4 separate regions of the Homo sapiens genome follow, and regions 1, 2 and 4 are each linked to region 3. The links are contacts of gene promoters, found by promoter capture Hi-C in human tissues and cell types (Jung and others, 2019). All regions are on one chromosome and are shown on one strand. Each heading gives the region's core, a stretch centred on a gene start or on the middle of the fragment in contact. The rest is flanking DNA. Distances are from core to core; before and after follow the strand shown.

Region 1 (2,700 bases), core at 51-2,550, 190 kb after region 3:
TATGTCAGTGAGAGTTGATTGTGGTTGCATAGGATGGAAATCGCTAAATTATAGGGGTTTAAACAAGCTAGGAACTTTTTTTCTGTCATTTAAAATCTAGATGATCCAGGATGGTGTGGTGGTTTGGAGACCCAAGGATTTCTTTCTTCTCTACTAGTCTAGCTCCTGGCTTTCACGCTCAAGGTCACCTCCTAGCTGGAACTTCAGCCCTTGAGTGGCCATTCCAGGCCACAGGAAGGAGGAAGGGGGAAGGTGAACAAAACACATTGTGACTTCAAATTGGGAGTCCTGCTACTGATGGACACTAGGAAAATAGATATTGGATGGCAACTAGAAATCTCTAACACAGCTCCTTTGAAAAGTGACTTTACCCCCTCCTTTGTATGCTATAAAGAATAATAGGAATAGTTATAACCAATAAAAAAGTCAAAGAGTTTGCTTTTAGTTTCCTAAGATGGTGCCACTACAGTGAAATGAGGGAATACTAGAAAGAGAAATCTTGATGAAGCAAAATCATGTTGTTCTTTGTTAAAATTTCTACAAAAATGTGAAAAGGTGATTATTCATATTTTATAGTTGTCACTGTATCGGTAATGGTGGTTGAAGTCTTTGTATACAAAAGGGAGGCACTGAAGTGTGGAATTTAACTCCAGCAAAATTTGGAAGAGGATTTTTACCCCAAACAAATTGAAAGGCAAAAAGATGTTTTTTAAAATGCAAATCTGTTTACAGTGCCCTGAGGTGAAAATAAAATGAAACTTCCTTTAAATCCTGTTGCTTACAACAATAGATATCATTAGAGACCTAAAGCTCAGTGATTTTATCTGAAGTGAGAGAGAATTGGGGGTATGCTGGTGTTTATTTTTATAGAACAGGGAAGATACATATCTGGAAGATAAACTGACTCATGAAGATTATATATTTACACTGGTGTGTCTCAGTCACTATATCTGAGGGCCCAGAGATGACGGAGAAGGAAATAGGGTGAGGTGGGTGCTTCTTGCCATCCTGAGGCATCATTTCCGCAGTCTTCTCTGCAAACACCTGCATTTTCCATGAAATCTGGATTGTGCTGAGAGTGTCTCTCCTTAAACATTTTTTGGATCTGAGCTTCCAAATTCTTTTTCTGAAATTGCGTTTAAGGCGATCAGCCAGATTTCAATGAAAGCCTTTGCTTTATATGAAGCATAAAGTAGAGCTTAAATGAACAGAAGGTCATTTGTCTTGTTTTTCAAAAAGAAAAAAAAAACCTCACCATTTTTGTAGCATAACTAAAGCAATCTGAAGGCTTTTTTCTTTTGTGTGATAGAATTTAGAGAAACGTACTGTGCTATCAAGAAAGGGTTCAAATAAGAGCTTCTAAGGAAGATGTTCTTCTCAATGTGTGGGTGATAATTTTAAGTTGTCTTCCTTTGAGACTCTGCCTCTGTCAGTGTTTTACTTGATAACAGAACTCACTGAGTCAGAAGCTGGCAATTTCATCATGATGCATTTTCTTATTTACCATTCAAGAGGTGTAAGCCTTATCTCTTATATTAATGTGAAAAGTAATGAAAATAATGATGCCAAAGGCATTTAATTCTTGGCTCTAATACTTTATAAGTGTGCCTCTTGTTCACATAATTTACTGGGCAGGGGAACAAGTCATCAGGGTGACCTTTTTCCATGGAGTTAATCAGGGACTCAAACTAACAGAAGCTCTGCCTTCTTCAGTGCGTGGCTTCCAAGGTCACCACCAGGATCACTTTCATTCTGGCCAGCCAGGCAGGGAAGAGCATGGATCAGCACATATGGGAGGGTTTGACCTGCCAAAGGCTACTGACTGTAACCCAGATGTGGTTATTATAAAGCTGGTTCTGGGTAGTTTTTCTCCATATCTCTCTTATATCAAAAAAGGTGAGTTAAAGGAGCCCTGATTCTTAGATGCAATTAGAACTCATTTATTCATGATGGAAAAGAGCTTTTCAGTTCTAGAAGGTTAGAGACAAAAATGAATATGATTAAAGTTTATAGAATCAATGCAGCCAAAAAGAAGTTTACTAAATCACAGACCACAGAATTAGAATGCTGTCTTTTAAGACTAAAAGAGTTATTTAGGGCATAGAAAGGGAATATAGTAGAATTTCAGAATAACCATATGTGTGTTAACTACTATTGATTACCGCTGTGACAGGGACTTAGATATATGATTTCATTTAATCTTTGCAATACCTCTTTAAGACAGCTTACTGTGGTGGTTAAATATGTAGGCTCTGGGGTCAAACTGCCTAGTTTAAATTCTGGTTCACTCACTTACTAGCTGGAAAATGTTGAACAACTACTTAACACTTCTCTGACTCAGATTACCCAGCTATAAAGTGGAGATAATAGTAACCCGGCTCCTAGGGGTTAATATGACAGTGAATGCATTAAAAATGTAAAACCCTGAGAAGAGTATGTGACATAAAAAGCTTTGACATTATTATTATTTCTCCATTTACATATTAGGACCTTGTATTTCAGAAGAGATAAGAGACTTTCCCACGGTTACGTACGTAGTAATTGGTAGAACTGGCTGTTAAAAGATATGTCTATTCAAATCAAAACACTGTCCTTCCCACTGTGGCAGGCCTCAAGTGAGTTATGAGCTGACAAGAGACTGGAGTACATACCACAATCTAGTTTCTAGGGAAATTAGGACTATTTATATTACACTGTGGT
Region 2 (2,700 bases), core at 118-2,617, 170 kb before region 3:
AGGGCCATTAGAGGGTTGTTTTGAGGCCTAGAAGACTAAAATCAAACCTCTGGGTAGCTGAGCAATGTCAGAACAAGGTACAGAGTGGGTTTAGGGTCACTTTGGAGCCACTGTCAGTTTTCTTCTTTTTTTGCTTCTGAAGCTGCAAAATCATTTTGGCCCAAGGGCAGTCCACTTGAATTCTATGCAGACAAGAGACAGACTCGTGGTTTCTCCACAAGATTTTGATGTACTAGATCAGGACATCAAACATCAGCCCATCTCCAGATATAAAAAGCAACTTCGTAGGTTTTCAGATTATGTTTTGCCAACCATCTGGACTATGAGACAGATACTTGAGACAGAGGATGTTACAGGAGCTGACCACCATTGTCACAAATCATTGGTGTGCAGAGGTTGAGGTGCCTCACTCTTCCCTGTATGTGTGCCACAGGACTCTCCAGAGAGCTGGTAAAGAATAGGAAATTAATGTAAATGTGTGTTACACTGAGTGTGTGAAATTGCTAAAGAAAAGATTAAATTATTACTTGATCGTGTTATTTAACTTCCTTTCTTTCGAACGAATAGAAGGAAATGAAAATTGACATTTCTCAATGCCTATAATGTCAGTTGCCCTACATAATTTATATATGTACATTTTAGTTATAAATAATATAATGGGACATAATTAAAAGTCCCATTTAATTCTCACAATAAATGTATGAAAAGAAAAAATAAGTCCTTAGAACATCCATAACCTACCTCAGTTTATACAAATAATCAAGTGAAATCATTTCAGAATTTGAATACAAGTTGTAGTGGCTTCACAAAATATGATATTCCCACCCTTATGCCCAATGCCATGTGGGCTATGATCTAAGCCCTAACTAAACAGTAAAATATATTCTCTTCTGCTGATTTTCTTCTTTTTTTTAAACTCATAAAAGAAGTGAAAATTTTTCCATACAGTTTACATTTTTACTAATCTTTTCCTCTATGATAAACTTTTGGTAGGGCCTTCTATTTATGAAGTGAGCCATGCTCTTTTCATGACCCTATTTGTTCAAGGCATAGTGGGTAATACTGAGATGAAGCAGGCACTGACCCTACCTTCAGTTTGTTGGTTAGTACAGGGCATTGCATACAAAGAGTTATCATACACGGGGAAAGATTCATGTACACTTTATTATTTCAGCCAGACTTTGAAGGATTAAATTGGGAGAGGAGAAAACACCATAAGCAAAGGGAACAGCATAGACAATCATGGTGTGTATATAGGAGCGGGAAATAATTCAAGATTGCCAGGACAGAGGTTGCATGGAGTGAACTGTAAACAGAAAGAAATAAATTGTGACCATATCAAACTGTATCAGAGGTTAAGCAAGGAAGTCCAGAGGAGAGAAGAGTTGAAGACTGTGAGGATTCTTACAATTCTTCATTTCTCTCTGTATCCACATCCTTTGCCATGTAACATTTCTGGGCCACCGACCTGGGGATGGGGTGATTTGTCCCTTCACTTCGGCTCAATCATATGACTTGCTTAGGCCAATGGAGTGTTAGCAGGTGTGACACAAGCAGAATCTAGAAATGGGCTTGTTCACTGGGGCTTGCTTTACTATGCCTCCGCCATTGCCATGAGAAAATGCTTGAGATAGCATGTTGGAGAATGAATACATAGGAAGTAGAGCCAAGCTGCTCCAGCTGCACAGTTGCCTGAGCCAAGAGTCTAGATCAGCCAACAACCAGGCAAGCCCAGACATGTAAGTTAAGCATAGTTCAGCAGAGTCACCCGGCCAACTCCCAGATGACTCCAGACATGTGAGCAATAAACCCAAATTGTCATATGACACTGAGGTGTTTTTGTTATTTGTTACACAGCAATAATAATACAACTAACACAGGTAATAAATACAACTAACACAGGATGTGATAAGATTGAAGACAGATAGGTAATGGAGAGAATGATAAGAAATAGAGAGATAGCCAATACACAGAGTATTGAGAATATGCAAGAAAATTCACCATCACCAATAGAGATGGTATAAGATTTTTAAGGAAAATATCTCAACAACTTGCCCCCCAAATATATGTAGGGTATTTAAACACCTGAGACTGAAATAAGTTGTCAGCAGTTCCTCCATATCATAACAACACTCCAAATTAAAGAGTGATACTTAGTAAATTTTACTCAGCCTGCAGACTGATGGCCTTCTTTCTCTGTACCCATTCTTTGTTTTGTCCATCATGATATTTCCCTTCATGTCCATTTATTCATAAATAAATGCGCATCTTTGAAATATTCTTTGAAACAGAAAGTTATATTGAGGGCAAGAAATAAGGCTAGTTATTGAGGCAATCTCTTATCTGCAATTCACAAGTATCAACAGTTTGAAACCTCAAGGTTTCGGTAACTTATTCATGGCAAAAGCTGACCTTCACTGACAAGGTTTATGTTTGTTTGTTTTTTGTAATATTTATCCCACTTAGTTTCACTGCAGAAATATTAATGTGTTTGAATATGGAGTATTGTATTGCCTTGACTCAGACCTCACTAATACATGGGATATTTCTCAAGGACAAAAAAAATTCTAAAATACATCTGGGCCCACGGGTTTCAGATACAGAATTGTAGATTGTATTTTAATAATGCAAATGGAAAATGGAAAGTAGTTGGAGAGTAAACTGAAAATGCATCCGTAGGAATAGAGGAGAGTAGGAAAG
Region 3 (2,700 bases), core at 131-2,630:
GAAGGGGCATCTTCCAAGAGCAGAAACTTTTAAATGAGTCCAAAATAGTAAATAATGATGCAGAATTTTAAGCCCCTCTACTCTCAGTCAACTTCCCTTCCCATGACTTCCCTGGCATTTGTTGAGCTCATTTGGGTTCCAGGCAAAACCTGAGACAAAGTCAAGGCTTGAAAGGGTTGGGGAGAGGCCGTATCCTTCACCCCATTGCCATTTTCAGTCTTCTACATGGATTTGTGGGTGAATCAGTGCTGCCTACCAGAGACCACCTTGGCCAGGATAATTTTATTTCTCCTAATTTAAATATGGAAAACTGATTTTGAGTGATTTTGTTGTAGACTAAAGAAGAAATCAGGGAGGAAGGCTAATTCTCTCCCCCTGCATATTTTCTGCCTTTTTGTCTTTATCACCATCAATGAGTACCCACAATACCGATTGCCTTTACTAACAGCCATAATGTTAGATGGATGAGACTGAGTGTAGTGTAGTGAAGGCACTCCTCTCTTGCTCCAGCAAATAAACCATTTTTGTAACTGCTATAAAAAAAAACCCTTTGAAATGATTTTATTTCTTGTTTTTATTACAAACAGAAAACATAAACCATGTCACCCACCATCTTGTGCTTTGAAATATGAAAGTCAAAGGAAAACTAATTTGGGAAGAGAGATGAAGTGCTTTGAAGGAGAGATGAAACAGCAAAGTTGAAAGATTAATGCTGCATAGACAAATTGAAATCTAAAGTGAAAGTTTAGACAACAGTAATCAAAATGAATGATAACACGAAAAGCCAGCAGGAAGAAAACATTTGAGCCAACAATCCAGTCTGGTTCATCCGGATAAGATGGTTATCTGGCATTTAATGCTGTTTCCTACACCATGAACATAAGCATTTACTGTCATACTAAGAAAAAGAAAAGTCATCCGAATTTATCGCTATTTTTACATGTAGTTAAATTAATTGTTGTCATATTTCCAAGTGAAGTAACATAGGTTTGGCTTTTGCAGTCAGTTCCTCAAGATTCACAGGCTTGGAATATTTTTTAACAATTTAAAGGCCCAAGATTTCTTACAGCCCCAAGAACTTTTCCCTCTCTACTAAGCACAAATCTGAACAAATAATTACACACCACCAACGTAAAACTAGGAGATCTTATTTTGGTACGGTCTTTGTGTAATTTTAAAACATGATTTTAAAAAATAAATTTTCTTACCTGGAAAATGCTGCAATATTATCAGCCAAAGTTTCTTCATCATTTGCCCCAGACCTGTAATAGTCATATATAGACTTTGGAAGTACTGATTTAGCATGTTGTTCATAATCATTGATACAAATTAGCCGGGGGAGCATTTTCACAGGTTATTGCTATCCCAGATGGAGTTCGTTGTTTTTTTTTTTTTAATGTATTGCTTTCTACATCCTCACTGTTCTGTTATTTGTCAATTATTAATAGACTTTTGCCAAAGTTCAGATTTAGTTCTCTGTTGCTTACATCAAGTGAGCAAACATTATATGCTTAGCCTTTGAAATTTCATTTGTAGGCTATCTGCCAAAGAACACCGAAGTCACTATCTGCCAAAGAACACCAAAGTTGAGGTTGGGAAGGCAGCAGAAGGTGATTAGGTGTCTATCACATTAAAAAGGGGAAAGGAATAAGTAAAAAATTAAAGACTTAGAGGAATACCTGTATGAAACCACTCTTGGTTCAGTTTTGCCTAAGGCTGCTTATTGCACATGGTCTGTGCCTGTGCTCTTTGCTTGATACCCAGAATAGGCTGCCCACTCATTTTCTTTCCACATTTGGATCATGCACAAATCATGTAAACAAGAGCTTATGAACTGAACGGGGCATCCATGAAATATGGGGCATCCGTGAAATTCAGGGCTTCTGCACAATATAAAATTTAGCTGATTACAAACATAGACATTTGGCTTTAACATGGAACATTAAGGCCAAATTGACAGCTAATTGTTTTATTCATTCTGTATATTTGAGGTTTACAACATGATATTATGAGATACATATACACAGAAAAATGGTTACAGTAGGGAGGCCAATATAATATATGTATCATCTCACCCGTAATTACTTTTTTGTGTGTATGACAAGAACAGCTAAAATCAACTTATTTAACAAAAATTCCTAATATGATACAATTTTATTAACTTTAGTCCTCATTTTGCACGTTTGCTCTCTAGACCAGGGGTCCCAAACTCCCCAGCATGGACTGGTACTGGTCCGTGGCCTGTTAGGAACCAAGCTGCACAGCAGGAGGTGAGCAGCCGGTGAGCAAGCTTTACAGACTGAGCTCCGCCTCCTATTGTGAACTGCACATGCGAGGGATCTAGGTTGCGCCACTCCTTATGAGAATCTAATGCCTGATGATCTGAGGTGGAACAGTTTCATTCCAAAACCATCCACCTACCCCCACTGCCCATGGAAAAATTGTATTCCACAAAACTTGTCCCTGGTGCCGAAAAGGTTAGGGACCCTGTTGTAGATTTATGTATCCTACGTGTCTACTATTTTGTATCCTTTGACCTATATCACCCCTTTTCCTCTTCCCTGCTTCCCACTAGTGGTATTCACTGTTTCATTCTCTAGCTCTGTGCATTTGAAGTCTTTTTTAAAACAAAATCCCACCTATAAGTGAAATAATGCAATAATTTCCCTTTTGTGCCTGGCTTATTTCACTTAGCATAAT
Region 4 (2,700 bases), core at 183-2,682, 200 kb after region 3:
TTTAGGCTTGTCCCATGGCCTCTCATAGAAATCATGGACCATGGAAGAACAAGAATATGGTAGACATGAAGGAAATGTAGAGGGTGAGTTGCCTGCTCTCAAGCACGATGCAGAATGCAAGACAGTGTCAACTGAGAGGCCAGATCTATATTACTTGTGCAGGGAGGTAGATAGGCCTTGTTTATATTACAACTAGAGCAGGACTTCTGGAGGGCTATAGCTTTATAATTATCATTATTATTTTTTTCCCTAGGGGAGAGCATAGGCCTGGCACTGGGAGGTGCTGATGCTCAGGGGATATTTGTGGAATGAAGGAACTGTCTGGTGTTTGTCTGGCTCACAGTGGGTTCACACAGGGGAGTGTGCAGCCTTGAGGCAGACCTGGAGGGCAGTCATGCTCCTATGAGACCTTCGTGACCTTTGAGGTGTTGTGTTACATTGGTTGGAACACCTTGCTCCTTGTCCTTCCATTCCATCTGAAATCTCCTAGGGTCCTAAGGGACTCTGTGACCTTCTTAAATGGGATTTCTCCATGTGTGTTTGAGAAGGAAACTATTTATTGGCAATGCAGAGCTCACTGCTGTTACAGTGCTGATTTCATTTAAGGTCCAAATATGTCTTAAGATTGAGTGTATACTACACTGCAATTCAATATTGGTTGAAGGTGATGATGCTTAATGTATTTATTTCTCATATTCTAAATTTTACCATTAGTTCCTATTTTCTGAAAAATATGCTCACCCATACACCCAAATATTGCAATGAAAAGCCCTTAAAGAAATTCAGAAGCGTTGGGAGTGACAGAACAAAAGATGCATGGTTGTGAAAACATCCTATCACGATAATGATTCACAAAGAGAAAAAAGAATACTTGTGCTTTATTGCTAAAGTGAGAAAAGTAACAAGACATAGTTCTAAATCTGATTTATAATGAACTTCCACCTACACTATTCTTTGTGTACAGAGGCAATGGAAGTCCCTGGAACAATGCTTTTAATTTCCTCCTTTCTCCACTCCTCGTTTAATGTACTTGGGCCACCTCCATTATTCCAGCTGCCCTCCTGCCCCTGAGAAATACCTCACCTTCTGCATTTATATTTTGGAGCTCGACCTTCCTGGCATCTCTGAATCCTGACTTCATTATTATCTGACACCACTCCCCTTTCTTTTAACAGTGTCTATATGAGTTTCCCCTCAGTTGAAGCTTTCCTAAGAACATAGCAATATGCCTTTACTAGTAAAAATCCCAACCTCAAAACCAACACAATGTTCCCCAGTCCCTTTTCCTCCTTTAGTTACCGTCTTCTTCTTCATCTCCTTCCCTCTACTATGCAAGTGTAACTTATAGTCACTGTCTCCCTGTCCTTACCTCCTACCTACTTCTTCTCAGCCTTCCAAAGTCTTTTTCTGCCCTCACCACTACTTTGAAATTTCTTTATCATGGCTGTGGGCAACATGGCTCCCAGCAACCCCAACTGATGTTTTTCAGAATCTTCCTTGTTTTTATTTGCTGCAGTACCTTCCACCCCTTCATCCATTCATTCACCAGTCATACTTTAAAAATGTACTGATGTCTCTTTTAAGCATTGTGCTAGTGTTGTGGATTGATGATGATTAATGATTTCATGCCTGCCCTTATTGCGGAGACAGATGCTAAGCAAATAGAGGTACAATTATTTTCATTATAACTGCTATGAAGGAAAAAAAGTACAAGTGAGTATAGGAAGCATGGAAGGTTTCCCTGGAAAATTCTATTTATGACAAGTGGGATTTAGGCCAGCATGAGTAGAAGAATGTGTCAGGTGGAGGGAACAGCAGGTGTGGGTATTCCAAAGAGCCAAGGAACACAAGATTTTGAAGGAGAGAAGCAGAATTAGCACAGGAGAGTGTGGCTCAGATAATGTGGTTGGATGGCAAGGGCCTGCATATATACTGCGTAGGTCCTTGCAGGATTTTAGACGTATAAAGTCAACCAGAAACCATTAAAACCATGTTTTCAACCCTGGCACCATTGACATTTGGTCCCAGTAGTTTTTTGTTGTGGAGTCTGGCCTGTGTATTATACGATATTTAGCAGTATCCCTCGCTCTAGATACTGGGTGTCAGTTGCAAAGCCTCCCAGTAGTGACAACCAAAATTGTCTCCAGACATAGCCAAAAGTCCCCTGGGGTGCAAAATTGCTCCCAGTTGAGAACCACTGATGAAAATGATAAATGATATACTATGCTTTTAAAAGTATCCGGCCAGTTCACTGCCCTCCCCGCCACCCCAAAGGCCAATAAGTACATGAAAAGATGTTTAACATCATTAGTCATTGGAGAAATGCAAATTAAAAAACACATTGAGGTGCCACTGCATACCCACCAGAGCTATATGTTACTGAAATTATTGGTTTTTCTCATCTGATGCCCCCACTAAGCCAGGAGCACCTCGGTTGATTTGGGATCTGGGCTTTAATTTGGTTCTCTCGTGGATTATCTGAAGGATCTTGCACGACACTTGAAGAACAATTCTTCCAACATTTCCCTACATTGTGTTAAAAGGGATTTTTCTGCTTGTTCTGTAGGAAGCCAGTATCTTCACATTGCTTCTCTCCACTGTTTTGCACCCTCTACTCTGGACCTTCTTCATCTCTTCTGCTTTTCTTTATTTTGGGAAATTTCAGAGTAGAGACACTCCTGGAGGAAAAGTCTCATCAAT

Evidence for each region. Contacts are between HindIII fragments. The study calls those that stand out against the background at their distance.
Region 1: a fragment that was not itself captured here is called in contact with the fragment with the promoter of HAO1 in region 3 in 3 of the 25 tissues and cell types used here (IMR-90 fibroblasts, hippocampus and mesenchymal stem cells).
Region 2: a contact is called between a fragment that was not itself captured here and the fragment with the promoter of HAO1 in region 3, in 1 of the 25 tissues and cell types used here (liver).
Region 4: a fragment that was not itself captured here is called in contact with the fragment with the promoter of HAO1 in region 3 in 1 of the 25 tissues and cell types used here (small bowel).

What each region holds. Positions count from the first base shown.
Region 1 is chr20:8,125,429-8,128,128 of GRCh38, forward strand. No RefSeq gene overlaps it. Among named protein-coding and RNA genes, the nearest start is that of PLCB1, 5.5 kb to the right of the region's middle. The HindIII fragment of the contact is 5,756 bases long and covers 1-2,700 here.
Region 2 is chr20:7,770,848-7,773,547 of GRCh38, forward strand. No RefSeq gene overlaps it. Among named protein-coding and RNA genes, the nearest start is that of HAO1, 170 kb to the right of the region's middle. The HindIII fragment of the contact is 5,580 bases long and covers 1-2,700 here.
Region 3 is chr20:7,939,078-7,941,777 of GRCh38, forward strand. HAO1 (hydroxyacid oxidase 1) reads right to left here and starts at 1,381. Exons shown (of 8, transcript NM_017545.3): 1 at 1,209-1,381. The coding sequence starts at 1,345. The HindIII fragment of the contact is 11,188 bases long and covers 1-2,700 here.
Region 4 is chr20:8,141,866-8,144,565 of GRCh38, forward strand. All of the region lies in intron 1 of PLCB1 (phospholipase C beta 1), which reads left to right. Among named protein-coding and RNA genes, the nearest start is that of PLCB1, 11 kb to the left of the region's middle. The HindIII fragment of the contact is 8,300 bases long and covers 1-2,700 here.